Regions from separate parts of the Homo sapiens genome. Here region 1 is linked to region 2. The links are contacts of gene promoters, found by promoter capture Hi-C in blood cells and fetal thymus (Javierre and others, 2016). All regions are on one chromosome and are shown on one strand. Each heading gives the region's core, a stretch centred on a gene start or on the middle of the fragment in contact. The rest is flanking DNA. Distances are from core to core; before and after follow the strand shown. Region 1 has its middle 19 kb from the start of SYT8. Region 2 holds the start of IFITM10 (interferon induced transmembrane protein 10).

What was found. The method cuts DNA at HindIII sites, captures the fragments that hold promoters and counts their contacts. A CHiCAGO score of 5 or more calls a contact.
Region 1: a fragment that was not itself captured here is called in contact with the fragment with the promoter of IFITM10 in region 2 in 1 of 17 cell types (monocytes); the score reaches 5.1 in monocytes.

The regions. Positions count from the first base shown.
Region 1 is chr11:1,812,793-1,819,719 of GRCh38, forward strand. No RefSeq gene overlaps it. Among named protein-coding and RNA genes, the nearest start is that of SYT8, 19 kb to the right of the region's middle. The HindIII fragment of the contact is 889 bases long and covers 3,698-4,586 here.
Region 2 is chr11:1,746,895-1,753,409 of GRCh38, forward strand. It overlaps IFITM10 (interferon induced transmembrane protein 10), which reads right to left and starts at 3,701. Exons shown (of 3, transcript NM_001170820.4): 1 at 3,465-3,701; 2 at 773-1,225. The coding sequence starts at 3,548. CTSD (cathepsin D) reads right to left here. Exons shown (of 9, transcript NM_001909.5): 9 at 5,861-6,515. RefSeq lists enhancers at 2,001-2,756, 2,757-3,512. The HindIII fragment of the contact is 9,148 bases long and covers 1-6,323 here.

The DNA of each region.
Region 1 (6,927 bases), core at 2,892-5,391, 66 kb after region 2:
CTGCCTCAGCCTTCTGTGTGGCTGGGATGACAGGCGCCCGCCACCACACCAGCTGATTTTTTGTATGTTCAGTAGAGATGGGGTTTGGAGTTTCTCATGCTTCTTTAGACCATGGCTGGGGCTCCTTTCGGCAGTGATCACGTCCACTTCTCATCTCCGTTCCATTCTCTCTCTAAGGCTCCACCACCTGCTAGACGCTCTCCTGCATCCCGCCTCACCCATCGCGCCTGCCGGTTCTGCCTCCCGCATGCTTTTGTCTTCCTTCCAGTTCACGAATTCTCTTTCAAGGGGCACCCACTTGCTAGCAGGTCCGTTTCCGCCACCACCGAGGTTTTTCTATTTTTTAATTCTAGAATTTCCATTTGATTCTTTTTCATAATTTCAAGTTTTATGCCAGATTTGGTTTATCTAATTTCTTGAAGATAAGACTCAGAGTTACATTAAAGAGATACATGACAATATTCCCCGTGCAATGGCTCATGTGAGACAGCCCCCCAGCCATAACAAAGCAAGGGGTCCGTTTCCCCGGGGGACACGTTCCAGGACCCCCCCAGTGGATGCTGGACACTGGGGACGGCAGACAGCCCTGAACCCTCTATATACACACCTGTGTTAAAGTTTAATTTATAAATTAGGCACAGTAAGAGATTCACAATAACCGACAGTAAAAGAGAACAATTGTAAGAGTATACTGCAACAAAGTTACGAGATGTGGCCTATGTTGCGCTCACCCTTCTTCCTGTGAGGCAAAAGGGATGGAGCCCGCAGGGCACGAGAGCTCCTCGTGCTACTCAGAACACTGCACAATTTGGAACTTACAAGGCGGGGCCTGGTGGCTCATGCCTGTAACCCCAGCACTTTGGGAGGCCAAGGCAGGTGGATCACCTGAGGTCAGGAGTTCGAGACCAGCCTGGGCAACATGATGAAACCCTATCTCTACTAAAAATACAAAAATCAGCCAGGCGTGGTGGTGGGTGCCTGTAATCCTAGCTACTCAGGAGGCTGAGGCAGGAGAATTGCTTGAACCCAGGAGGCAGAGGTTGCAGTGAGCCAAGACCGCACCACTGCACTCCAGCCCAGGCCACAGAGAAAGACATTGTCAAAAACAAAAAACAAAAAACAAACAAACAAACAAAAAAAAAAACCTTATGAATTGCATCTTTCTGGAATTTTCCATTTAATGTTTTCAGACCATACTTGGCCATCGGTAACTGAACCCACAATGAGGGGTGACTACTGTGGCACAGCTCGAACAGCGAGAATCTGTTGTCTCTCAGTCCCGGAGGCTGGAGTCTGAGATCAACCTGTGGCAGGGCTGTTTCTTCCCAGGCCGCTCTCCATGGCTTGCAGACGCTGCCTTCTCCCTGTGTGCCCTCAGAGCCGTCCCTCGGTGTGTGTTTGTCCTTACCTCTCCTTCTTGTAGGGACACAGCCACACTGAATTAGGGCTTTCCCTGGAGACCTCATTTTAACTTAATTGCCACTTTAAAGATTCCATCTCAAACAGCCTGACTAACATGGTGAAACCCCATCTCTATTAAAAATATAAAAAATTTAGCCAGGCGTGGTGGCACACACCTGTAATCTCAGCCACTTTGGGAGGCTGAGGCAGGATAATCACTTGAACCCACCCGGGAGGCATAGGTTGCAGTGAGCCGAGATTGTGCCACTGCACTTCAGCCTGGGTGACAGAGTGAGACTCTGTCTCAAAAAAAAACAAAAAGAAGATCCCATCTCGAGCTACAATCACATCGTTAGGCACCGAGAACTAGGATTGCAACATGTGAATTTTGAGAGGACACAATTTAGCCCATAACACAACTGCTCAAAGCGCATTTGGGAGGTTGCAGAAGTGAAAGGATTTCTGTGTCCCCAAACCGGGGGCCCACAGGGGCCGCCTTCTCTATGACCAGACCTCATGCAGAAAGACTTTGATTTGAAAGTGAGATCAGACCCGTCTCCTGGAGGCTGCAAGCTCCGGGGGAGTCAGGAATGGAATAGGATCTCAGGTCCTTGGGCAGCACCCGACCCCCGACGGCAGCGCCAGTGTGTCCCAAAGAGGAGCCTGCAGGGAAGAGATGCTGATGTTGAACGGGGCCAGGCCATGGTGCATGGCGAGCCTGAGTGGCACTGTGTTAGGACAAACAAGAAATCCTCCCCTTGCAGAAGGCTCTGGGCCTGGGCCTTGCCTGTGTCCCCTCCCCTGCAAGGAACCACCCTTCCTCCATGGAGGGGCAGCTTGGTGGGCCTGTCCATCAACTGGTGGCTGTGGCCATGCTCCCCGAGAAGGAAGACCGTGTCATTCCAGGGACTGCTCATGGGCTCCCGGACCAGGAAGCCTGAATGGGCTCTTTGGTTCTTTCTTCTGGTCTGACGGCTGCCCCTCCTTCCAATAAATGCCCTCTTTTCTTCCTGGCTTAAGTTCGCCAGCTTCAGTTTGTGTTATTGCAACCAGAGAGCCTTAACCATCCCCAGGGCTCTGTGATGATTCCACTGGAATTTCCCGGTGGTGGTGGGGCACTGAGGCCCTGGGGAGGCTACGGCCCTAGGAGGCTGGGCCTGGGGCATGGGCGGCCAGGAGCCTGCTGGGTGGCTGGGCGCTCTGGGCATCACGTCCAGGGCCTTCCCGGGAGAAAGGCCAGATACAGGCCCAAACACCAAGCTCTTTCCCTCCCTTCCCCAGGAGAAGGGCCCCATGGGAGCAGGGGTGTCTCCTTCCATAAACGGACAGGGGCTGGGCTCACGTGTGAGTCCCCTAGAAGGGGTGACAACTTCTGGCCTTTCTGAGAATACTCCAGGATGACAAGGTGGGGAGATGTGGAGCTGCAAGAAGTGCTAGCATGTTCCTCGGGAATGAGGAGATCTCAGAGTCATGAGGGCTTAACCCACATTGTAGTGGGCCCAGGAATGGGACTAACTTCTGGATAAACTCAGGGAGAATGCACCAGAAGACAGCAGCCCACAGAGCTGCCTTGCCACGCATTCCCGGGATGAAGGCAGCTGAGGCAGGAGCTCTAGGCTGGCTAAGAACACAGGTGTCATCCAGGACCACTTGATGTCAGCTGGGGCCACCCAAACTGCCTCAAAACCTACAAACGGTGGCTGTGTTGGCCATGCATGGGGCACCCCATGTAAGAGCAAATGGCGCAGGTGACCCACCTGTTGGAGTGGGTCTGGTTGGACAAACCAAGGGGTGTCCACGCTGGGGAGCCTCTGTGGCTGACAGTGGGTGAGAGGCTCTGGGCAAAGCTGTGGCTGGTCTCCCAGACCCGTGTCTGGGGCACTCAACATGGGGCAGACCAGATGGGGATTAACACACTGTCGTTTACTAAGAAAGGTTTTGGGGTGTGAATAAATATCTTTTAAAAGATGGAACTGTCAATCAAAGCTTGCAAAAAGAGACCGGGCGCCATGGCTCATGCCTGTAATCCCAGCACTTCGGGAGGATGAGGCGGGCAGATCACATGAGGCTAGGAGTTTGAGACCAGCCTGGGCAACATGGCGAAATCCCGTCTCTACTAAAAATACAAAAATTAGCCAGGTGAGGTGGTGGGCGCCTGCAGCCCCACCTACTCAGGAGGCTGAGGCAGGAGAACGACTTGAACCCAGGAGGCGGAGGTTGCAGTGAGCCGAGATCACACCACTGCACTCCAGCCTGGGCAATACAGCAAGACTCTGTCTCAAAAAAATAAAAATAAAGCTTGCAAAAAGGGGCAAGGGGCACCTGAAAGAGACAGCAACCAGGATGCTGAGCAACCTGCCTGTGCCCTGTAGTTTTTTCAGTCATAAAACAGTTCACATAAAACAGTTCACAGTCATAAAACGGTTCAGATAAACGTATGCACTCCAAGAAGTCAAGAAAGAAACTTAAAATCCTGTAGGTAAATTAGAAATATCAGTATGATTCCATGATATATTTACCTTTAAAAATATATATTTCCAGCTGGGCCACAGTGGCTCACTCCTGTAATCCCAGCACTTTGAGACGCCTAGGCGGGTGGATCACTTGAGGTCAGGGGTTCAAGACTAGCCTGGCCAACATGGTGAAACTCTGTCTCTACTAAAAATACAAACATTAGTTGGGCATGGTGGTGCATGCCTGTAATCCCAGCTACTCAGGAGGCTGAGGCAGGAGAATTGCTTGAACCCAGGAGGTGGAGGTTGTAGTGAGCTGGGATCATGCCACTGCACTCCAGCCTGGGTGACAGAGCAAGACTTTATCTTAAAAAAACAAAACAAAAAAAAGTTATTTCCTAAGCCAGTCAAAAAAAGAAAAAAGAAAAGACAAATACTGTATGATTCTATTTGTATGAGGTCCCTAGAGTAGTCAAATTTATAGTGACAGAAAGTAGGATGGCGAGTGCCAGGGGCTGGGGGAGGTGGAGGGGGAGTTGGATTTAATGGGAGCAGAGCTGCTGCTTTTCGAGACAAAAGGCATTCTGGAGCTGGATAGTGGGATGACAGCAGCGCGAATGTACTGAATGCCACGGAACTGTGCACTTAGAAGATGGTAAATTTTGTTACACATATTTTACCACCATACAAAAACTGGAAAAATAGGTCTTGCCTAATTCTGTCCACAGTAAAAGCTTAGAAACAATGAAAATAGACTAGTAGCAATGAGCACCCTGGCACCCAAAGTGGGACCTCTAAATACCCACCAAACTCCCTTCAAAAAGAACCGTGAACCCTTGGAGAAATGACTGGTTCTGGGCTGAGCCATGACATAGCCATGACATAAGATAAACCTGGAACTTCTCATTGCATCAGAAAGCTAAGAAACAATCAAAGACTACTGAGGTCATTTCAAGATGACATACCAGTCAACTTAAATGTATCCCCATTGACCAAATGTGGGACCACATGGTCACCAGTAAAGACAATAAGTTCAATGAATGGAAGGGCATTGTGTCAGGCACACCCTAATGCGGCCTCCAGTGAGTAATGGCCTTATTTAATCCCCTGCCCTGAGGCAGGGCAGAATCTGTGATTTTTCTTTGACTGAGAGATTAAAGCAAAAGTGAAGAGACTTTGCAGATATAATTAAGTTCCTAACCAGTTGACTTTGAGTTAATCAAAAGGAGATTTTTCTCAGTGGTCCTGACTTAACAGGCAAGCCCTTTGTAAGAGAGTCTAGGGCTTCTCTGAAGTTAGAGACTCGAAGGGGCAGAGACCCTCTCTCTCTGTTGCTGGCTTTGAAGGAGGAAGCTGCCATGAATTCTGCAACTTCATGGAAATAAGTTCTGCCAAAACCTAAATGAGCCTGGAAGCTGCTCCCTCCCTAGTTGGGTCTCCAGATGAGAACACAGCCTGGCTGACAGCTTGATCTCAAGCTAGTGAGACCCTGAGTGAGGAATCTGGCTAAGCTATACCAGGACATCTGGCATACAGAAGTGCATATACTAAATGGGAGCTTTATGTTTGTGGCAATTTGTTCCACAGCCATTGAGAATTACTGCACACATTCAATACAGTACATTTAAGTAATATACTTCAATTTATGATTTCACAATAATATATATTTAAAATAATCAATATTTTTCTCTGCCTTCCCTGTACCAAATATTTGATGTGGGAAAGTGTATCTTTAGAAGAACTCTTGCAAATAAATGCTGAAGAAATACCAAGTTTAGAAAATTGCAATTTTGCAACCCCTAATGAAATGATGGATCTAGGGCAGTGGTCCTCAACTGGGGGCAGTTTTGCCCCTCTGGCAATATCTACAGGTATTTTTGATTGTTGTAACTGAGAGTTGCTGTAGGGATCAGGGATGCTGACAAATATCCTAAAGTGCACAGGACAGCCCCACAGCAAACATTATCTGGCTGGGTTAGAAAGACCCTAAGGTGAACCACAGTGATTTCTGCTTCCTGTTGGCTGTGCTTCTGTGTTGTCCCCTCTCCTTGAAAGTGTTAACCAACAGAATATGGCAAAGGTGGTAGATGTCACACCTGGGATTATATTATAGTATATAATATTCTGGAGTCACTCTCTCTGTCTCCTGCTGGCCTTGAAGAAGCAAGAGCCATGTGTGAACTGCCTTTGAGGGGCCCACAAGACTGGGAACTATGGGTGGCCTGCAGGAAGTGAGGACCTCAGTGCTACAACCACAAGGACCTGAATTCTACCAACAAGCTAAGTGAATGCAAAGCAGGCCCTGTCCCAGTTGGACCTTCAGATGAGAATGCAGCCCCAGCTGACACCATGGGATCCTGAGGTAGAGAACCCAGCTAAGTTGTGCCCCAGGCTTCTACCCACAAAAACTGTGAGATAAGAAACATGTGTTGTTCTAAGCCACTAAGTTTGTGGCAATTTGTTCCACACCATAGAAAACTAACAGCCTGGCCCCAAATGCCCACAATGCCAAGACTGAGAAACCTAACTTAGGGCTTGTTGTTGTGGTTGTTTTCTACAAGGGCTGAGTTGCAAACACATCTGTCTTTGCAGGCCATTTGCTCTCTGTCATTGTGTCTGTTTTTTATCACTGTGTAATAAATCACCACAAACCCAGCTGTGAAACAAATCCTGTGCATCCTGTGGAACAGAGCTCTGGGCATTCCTGTAGGGCTTTTTCCTTAGGTCCTCACTGGCTGAGAGCAGATGCCAGCCAGGCTGGGCTCCTCTCTGGAGGTGCTGGGGAAGACTCCACTCTCGGGGCATTCACGGTGTGGACACAATTCGGTTCTTGTGTTTGTAGGTCCCCATCTTCCTGCTGGCTGTAGGCAGGGTGACTCTCTGCAGGAGGTCGTGCTCAGTCCTTTCCCCTGGTTCATGGAGAGCCTTCCTCGAGGAGAATCACTGTGAATCCCTCTCAATTTCTCTCCTACCACCAGCTGGGGGGTAAAAAAAACAACCCAAACTCTGCTTTTACAGGGCTCATGGGATTCAACCAGGCCCACCGTGATCCTCTCTCTATTTTAAAGTCAAC
Region 2 (6,515 bases), core at 2,451-4,950:
CACGCTCCCTTCCCCAGGAAGGGCTCCAGCACCAGACACATTGACACACGGCTGCCCCTCTCACTGTGAGCCCATCACAGCCTCCCTCCCACCATCTCAGTCCCTGCTGCTCCACCTTGCCCTCAGGGGGACAGGGTCATGTCTGCCCAGCACCTGCTCTGCTACCAGCCAGCTCTTCTCGCAGCCCTGAGCTGGGGAGGTGCAGGACCTGTTTACACCCCTCTTCCCTGGGCTGCCCTGGCCACCCAGGTCTGGTCTCCACGCAGGGCTTGGCAGAGCTGTGTAAGCACCTGCCCTTGGGCTCCGGGTGAGGAGCTGGATAAGAAGGTGGCCCCTCTTCCTTTCCATAGGGGTAGGATTCCAAGCCCTCTTCAGCCCCACGCTGGCCCCATCCCTGCACACGGAGAAGTGGCTGCTGCCCAGGTCTACGTCCCATGTCCCCTGAGCCTGAGCAACCCCGCCCCCCTCAACCCCCGCTCCCAGCCCCTCCTGCAGGTTCCGCTGAGCTGGCTGAGCAGAAAGCCAGGCCCTGATGGCTCAGGAGAGGGAAGGGCAGACCCCTGCCCGCCCAGACCTAGCCAGTACCCCGACCTCTCTGGGACCCACCATCAGGACCCCTCACTGTCCTTTGATCCCTTGGCCCCTCAACTGCACCTGTTCTACCCGTGTGCTCCCCTGAGAGGGAGAGGGGCCGAGCGCCCACAGCCAGGGACTGTCCTGCCGGCACCACCTCTCTAGCCCGCCCTTGCCCCCTGCCACCGCCCGGGCTCACTTTGAGGGAGTAGGCCAAGGCGATGAAGCCCAGGCAGCAGAAGTTGAGGTAGACGAAGTTGAAGATGGACCACAGGTAATAGTCGTTCACCTCGGTGGTGTCCGGGTAGACCTCGATGACGGTCGTGGGGTTGGTCATCGTCTTCTTCTCGGCTAGGTGCTTGCAGGCAGGGGGCGCGCCGGCAGCCCGCACGCTGTCGGTCTTGCTGCTCTTGGACTCCATGGGGAACAGTGTGGGCGCCATCGGGGGAGAGGCCGAGGGCTCAGGGGCAGGGGCCGCCGGAGCCTGCAGGGCAGGGGGCTTGGACACGCAAGCGAAGCAGCCCTTGGGCGAACCTGCCGGGGGCCTCGGAATCCAGAAGGCCCCGTCCAGGGGGACTCGGGCTTCCTGGGCGCCGTCCGTGGTGCTGGCCGGGTCTCCCAGCGGGGCTGGGCACTGGCCGGGGCCCTGGGCCTGGAGAGGAGAAAGTGAGAGCAAGCTGGGCCCGGCCTACCGGCCAGCACCCACCCTCACGCCCAGCAGCTCCGAGAACAGCCCCAGTGGAGACGGAAATCCCTGCGGGGGCCGCCAGCTGCCAGCCTGCCACCTGCCTCCCCCACCCGCCCCGGGCCTCGGCGGCCACGGACGATGCCAAAGCCCTTCGCAGCAGCCTTGGCAGGGACCTGGGGCTTTCATCACTTCGCCATCTGCGCATAAACACTCACCCACTGACACACACAACAGCACCCCCCGCCCCGAAGCACACCAACGCTGAGACTGACACTGTTGCAAAACACAGAGTGCCCCAGCACCCCAAACAACCCCGCACACACGGGGCGCCGGACCCACAGCGACGCTGCCTCAGCCGCCAACCGGCAGAGCTAGCAGAGCGGCCAAAGCACCTGCCCACGGCGCCCGCGGACACCCGATACCGCCACGGGCACCGCCACGGGCTCCACCGCGGGCTGCACCGCGGGCTCTCCAGACCCCGGGGCGCACCCGCGGGCGCGCTCAGAGCCATTGACGAGTAAACAACTCCCCACACAAGGCGATGCAGGCTCAGCCACGAGCACCAAGAACCGGCACAGGTGCGGGGTCTCCAACTCGTGCGCACCGCCCCCCACCTCCAACCTGGGGACCCCAAGCGCGCACACTTGCCCGGAGCCACGCACCCCCGGGCCATACATAGACGCACAATAACAGGCTGTGAAATGAACACTTCTCCAACGAGGCACCAAGTCGCTCGCGCTCTGCGCCACCCCGCGTTCCCAGCTCCCGTGCGGCGCTCGCCGGGGGGTCTGCGGCCGAGGCTCTGCAGCCCCCAGCCCCATCCGGGTCTGCCGCAGCCCCCCGGACGGCGCCTCCTCACCTACAAGCGACTCCTCGGCGCGCGGCCGGACCCCCTGAGCCTCGGTGCGCGCGTCCTTCCGCCGTCCCGCGGGCCGCTGTCTGTCCACTGATCCGCCTCCCAGCGGCCCAACCTTGAGGGGGTGGGGAGCGCGCGGGGCTCGGCGGCGGCGCCGCTGCCTCCCCCGCCGCCTGCGCTCCCTCCGCAGCGCCAGACCGGCCGCGCGGCTGCAGCCCAGAGCCTGACTCACGGCGGCAGCGGGCACAGCCACCTCCCCGCCTCCGCCTCCTCCTGCCAGGAGGGTGGGGGCCTCGGAAGCCGCGACCCTGGGGAGTTGCAAGGTCCCGCAGGGATGGGACCCCTACAGCCCCCGACCAGGGTGTCCGCGCCACCTCCATCTCCCCGGACCCACTGCGTCTTCCTCCCCACCCCACCCGGCCCCATCCCTCTCGCGGAGCCCCCAGCCCCGTGGAAGACTGGACGCTCCCGGAACCCTCCCCATCTGCCTCCCCAAGAGAGACCCTCTTCCTCTTCCCACTCTCCCCATGGCGCTCCACCCCAGCGCCTGGGCCCTGCTGCCTCCAGGGACCCCCGCCCCTGGGTCCTGCCCTTCTGGCCTGTTGACTCTCAGTTCCAGCAGCTCAGTCCCCTCCTGACGAAGCTCCAGTCCCCTGAGCCCCAGCAGGCCCCCTACCTGACTGCCCGTCTCTGCCCCATCCTGTCCCTAACCAAGTCCACAAGGCCCCCAAGACCACCCTCCAGTCCCTTCCCTCCTTAGCCCACCAAGTCCAGGCCTTCCGGTAAGTTTCAGCACCCCCTACTCTGTTCCTTCCTGGCTGAGCCCACTCCTGCCCATCGGAGCTCCTGCCCCCTTTCCTGGAGTCTGACTTCACCCAGCCGGGGCCCCACTCCAGTTCACTCCCAGAGTCTGGGAGAATGTGGCCTCTCCTGCGCAGACCCCAGGTCATGCTCCATCTGCTCGCAGGGCAAAGTGTCCCGTTCCGAGCTCTGGTCCTGTGCTGAGGTCCTGGCTGCTAAGGACACTTGTCTCCCTGGAGGCTGGTTTACTCACCTGCCCACAGCCTCTCTGTGATCCCTACCAGCCCTTCTGAGCCTGGTCCCCTGAGGATACTTTGTTCCCTGTGAATCATTTTTCCTGACCAATGCCTGTCCTCCCAGCCTCAGCCGCCTCCGCTACCCCACCACATCCTCACTCTCACGGTATGCTTGACGCCAGCTGATCTTCCATCCCCATAACAGTCCCCATGAGTTCCTCCCCATGGAGAAAACTCCAGCCTTCCCTCCCTCCCTCCAAGTCCCCCACTTCACCACGCAGGTTCCCTGAGCTGGGTCCTCTTCACCAACCTCCAGCTCCCACTGAGCCTCGACCCTCTCCAAAGTCCCCCGGAAGCTGAGGATGCATGGCGGCCCCCGTTTTCCCTCCCTCATCTCTCTCCAAGCCCCATCCTCCCATGAAACTCCTTTCTCCTCTGCCACTCTCAACTGGCCTCCTGTGTCTCCGCAACCCTCTTTCCTGTCTGGAAGGCCAGTCCTGCTTGGGGTCCTGTCTGCCTGCCTGTGCCTGACTCTGAACCCTTTCTCTCCCCAAACCTCTGTTCTGAACCCTAATCCCCTGGAAAAGCCCAGCCCTCTGCAAGCCCCTCCTCTTTCCAGCCTAGTCCCCGCCCCTCATGCCTGGGCTGACCCGGGCACAGTGTTATCCACAGCACGCCAGGAACCCACAGCACAAGGCTGATCTTAAATGATGTTGATAAACCCTAACGAGCAGGAGGGGTCATGAAGCATGAGGAGCCTCCTCCTCGTCTCCTTGGGCACCCTGGCCATGCTCTCCCTGGAGCCCACAGGCCGTGGGTGGATGGGGCCTGTCGGAGAACCAGGGTTCCGTTCTCCCTCCCCAACTCCCTCCTCCTTTCCAAGGGCCTGGCCCAGGGAAAACTGGACCCGGTGTCCTCAGACGGGGCCTGATCCCAGGCTGAGTGTGGCCTGTGTGCCATGCCCCCATGTCTCCCCAGCATCTGAGCTGGGCTTACCCGGCCAGCCACCACCTTCTGGGAGACCCTGGCCTGCCACACAGCCTCTGCCCAGTGCTGCCCCACCCCAGTTTGCCCTGAAGGCCTCAGGCAGTGAGGAGGCCTCCATAGCAGGAGAGGGTTGCCTGGGCCCGAGGGTCCAGGGCCTGCCCAGGGTCACTGGGTAGGTGACAGGGGAGCCAGGGCCTGCTCCCGGCCTCAGGCCACCTTGGGGCTGCCTCTGAGGCCAGGAAACACCACTGAGAGGGAGCCAGGGGTCGCAGGGCAGAGCCAGGGCCGAGCCAAACTTGGCACAGCCAGCATTCATGTGACTGTTGGTGGGCTCCCCAAGGGCCTGGGCTCCAGCTTCCCCTTTGCTAGGGGTTTCTGGTTACAACCCACAGTCTAGACAGGGGGGGACTCCAGGCTCAGGGTCCAGTCACCAGCTAGAAAACCACGGAGGAACCCGGGGTCAGACTCCAGGGCCCCGAGAATCCTGCCGGGCTGGAGGGAGCCCTCGGAGCAACCCCAGGGCAGCAGCCATGAAGATGGGAGCTGGACGGAGCTGACAAGCTGCAGAAGGAGGGAGATGGGGAGAGTGGGACAGGGCAGGGACAACAGGGTATGGCTGCCTCCTTGTACCTCTCTGCCCTCCCAGGCCTCAGTGCACAAAGCATCTGATGACAGGACATTTGTCTCCCCAGAAGCCCTGCCAGGCCCTGCAGAGTTCTGCCCAGCTCTGCTCAGATTTCAGGCATGCCAAACGCCAGGCATGTGTTTCCAAGCCTCCGTGCCACCCTGGGTAAATGTTCTTGCTCCAGGTGTCTGCCGTAGCATGGCTCTGGGGTGAAAGCCCTGCAGCCCCTTGGGAGGAAGGCCAAGGCAGCCACCACCCTCAGGCAGAGGCATCAAGATAATGGCAAATGTCACATCTGCCTCATCTTCTAACCTGTTGGGGTGGGGCTCGAGGGGGCTCTAAGTGACTCCAGAGCTACTGATCCCAAAAGGAACTCTGCTCCCACCACCACATGCCCACAAACTCCTACTTACCTATTAGAACCCCAGGGGCTGCTACCACTGCATCCGGGCACACGCTCCCAACCCCTCCCCTCCCAGCGGAACAAGCGCACCGCGTTATCAGCCCGGGGATCCGTGACTGTGGCAGCTGTGGCTGGAGGGGACTTCTGAGTCCAATCCCTGCAACCAGGGACCCTGGGCAGGCTTGCTTGGTGCCAGCTCAGCTCACTGCACACAAAACCGCTTCTAGGGCCTGGGAGGCAAGAAGGCCCAGCTAGGCCAGCCCCCCCACGCCACCTGGGGCCATTTATTTCCCGGGACAAGAGGGCTGAGGAGGGTGACTGGTAGGCCTGCTCTGAGGGTCCCCGAGAGCAGAAATAGCCTCTGTTCGAGTGCCGTGGCTGCCTGGCTGGGCCACCTCCCTGAAATCACTCCTCAAGGCTGGCACTCACACTAGACACCCTGAAACCCCAGCCAAGGCCACATCCTGCCGGCTACTGCTCCAGACCTGGGAACAAGTCAGTCCCCGCTGGCCGACCAGGCTGGAGCCCATGGGCTGGGCAGGGCAGGGCAGGGGGCCATAGGCCCGGGGCACCCCAAATGCTTGTCCCGGTGCTGCCGAGTCAGCTGCCGTGCTGGCTTCGCACTACCCACCCTCCTTCCCCATCCCAAGTTGGAGCCACCCCTGACCAGGCACAAGAGCACACCAGCACAGAGGGGAGGCCGGAGGCCAACAACTGTATTTCCATGTCAGCTGGGGCTCTCAGCCGCCCAAGGGGAGGACAACAGAGGTCAGCTGCAGAGGAAGGCTGGCACCAGCCCCCAATCCCAACCCCACCTCCAGGCCAATACATGCCCCTGGGACTGGCTCAGTCCCAGCACCACCCTGCAGGCTCCAACAAGGTGGGTTTTGTCCCCTCTCACTCCTTCCAGCTCATCCTCAGGCCTCTAGCGGCCTCATCCTCAACGGGCCCGGGACACTGAACAGGTAGGGTGGCAGAGCCCAGCTGGGCCCAAGCTGGGCAGAGGGGCCCTCAGGCAGGGCAGGTTTCCAAGGGAGGGCCCGGGAGGACGGCCTGGTGTGGGGTAGGGGCTCAGCCCAGCGGGCGCTGGTAGGGCCGGGGAGGGGACTCCCTGGAGATGAAGGGAGCCCCAGGATACACGAGCTCGGCTGCCAAGCTTGGGTGGGGTCTTCCAATGCACGAAACAGATCTGTGCTCTGGATCAGCTCTACCCCCACCAAACAGATGGAGAGACAGACAGGCAGGCAGCATTTCTGAACCCAGGGAGGGGAAAACCACAGAACAAAACAGCAAGTCGGGCTTGGGCCGCCGGCTTCCAGGGCGCCCAGGACAGTGGGCGGGCGAGT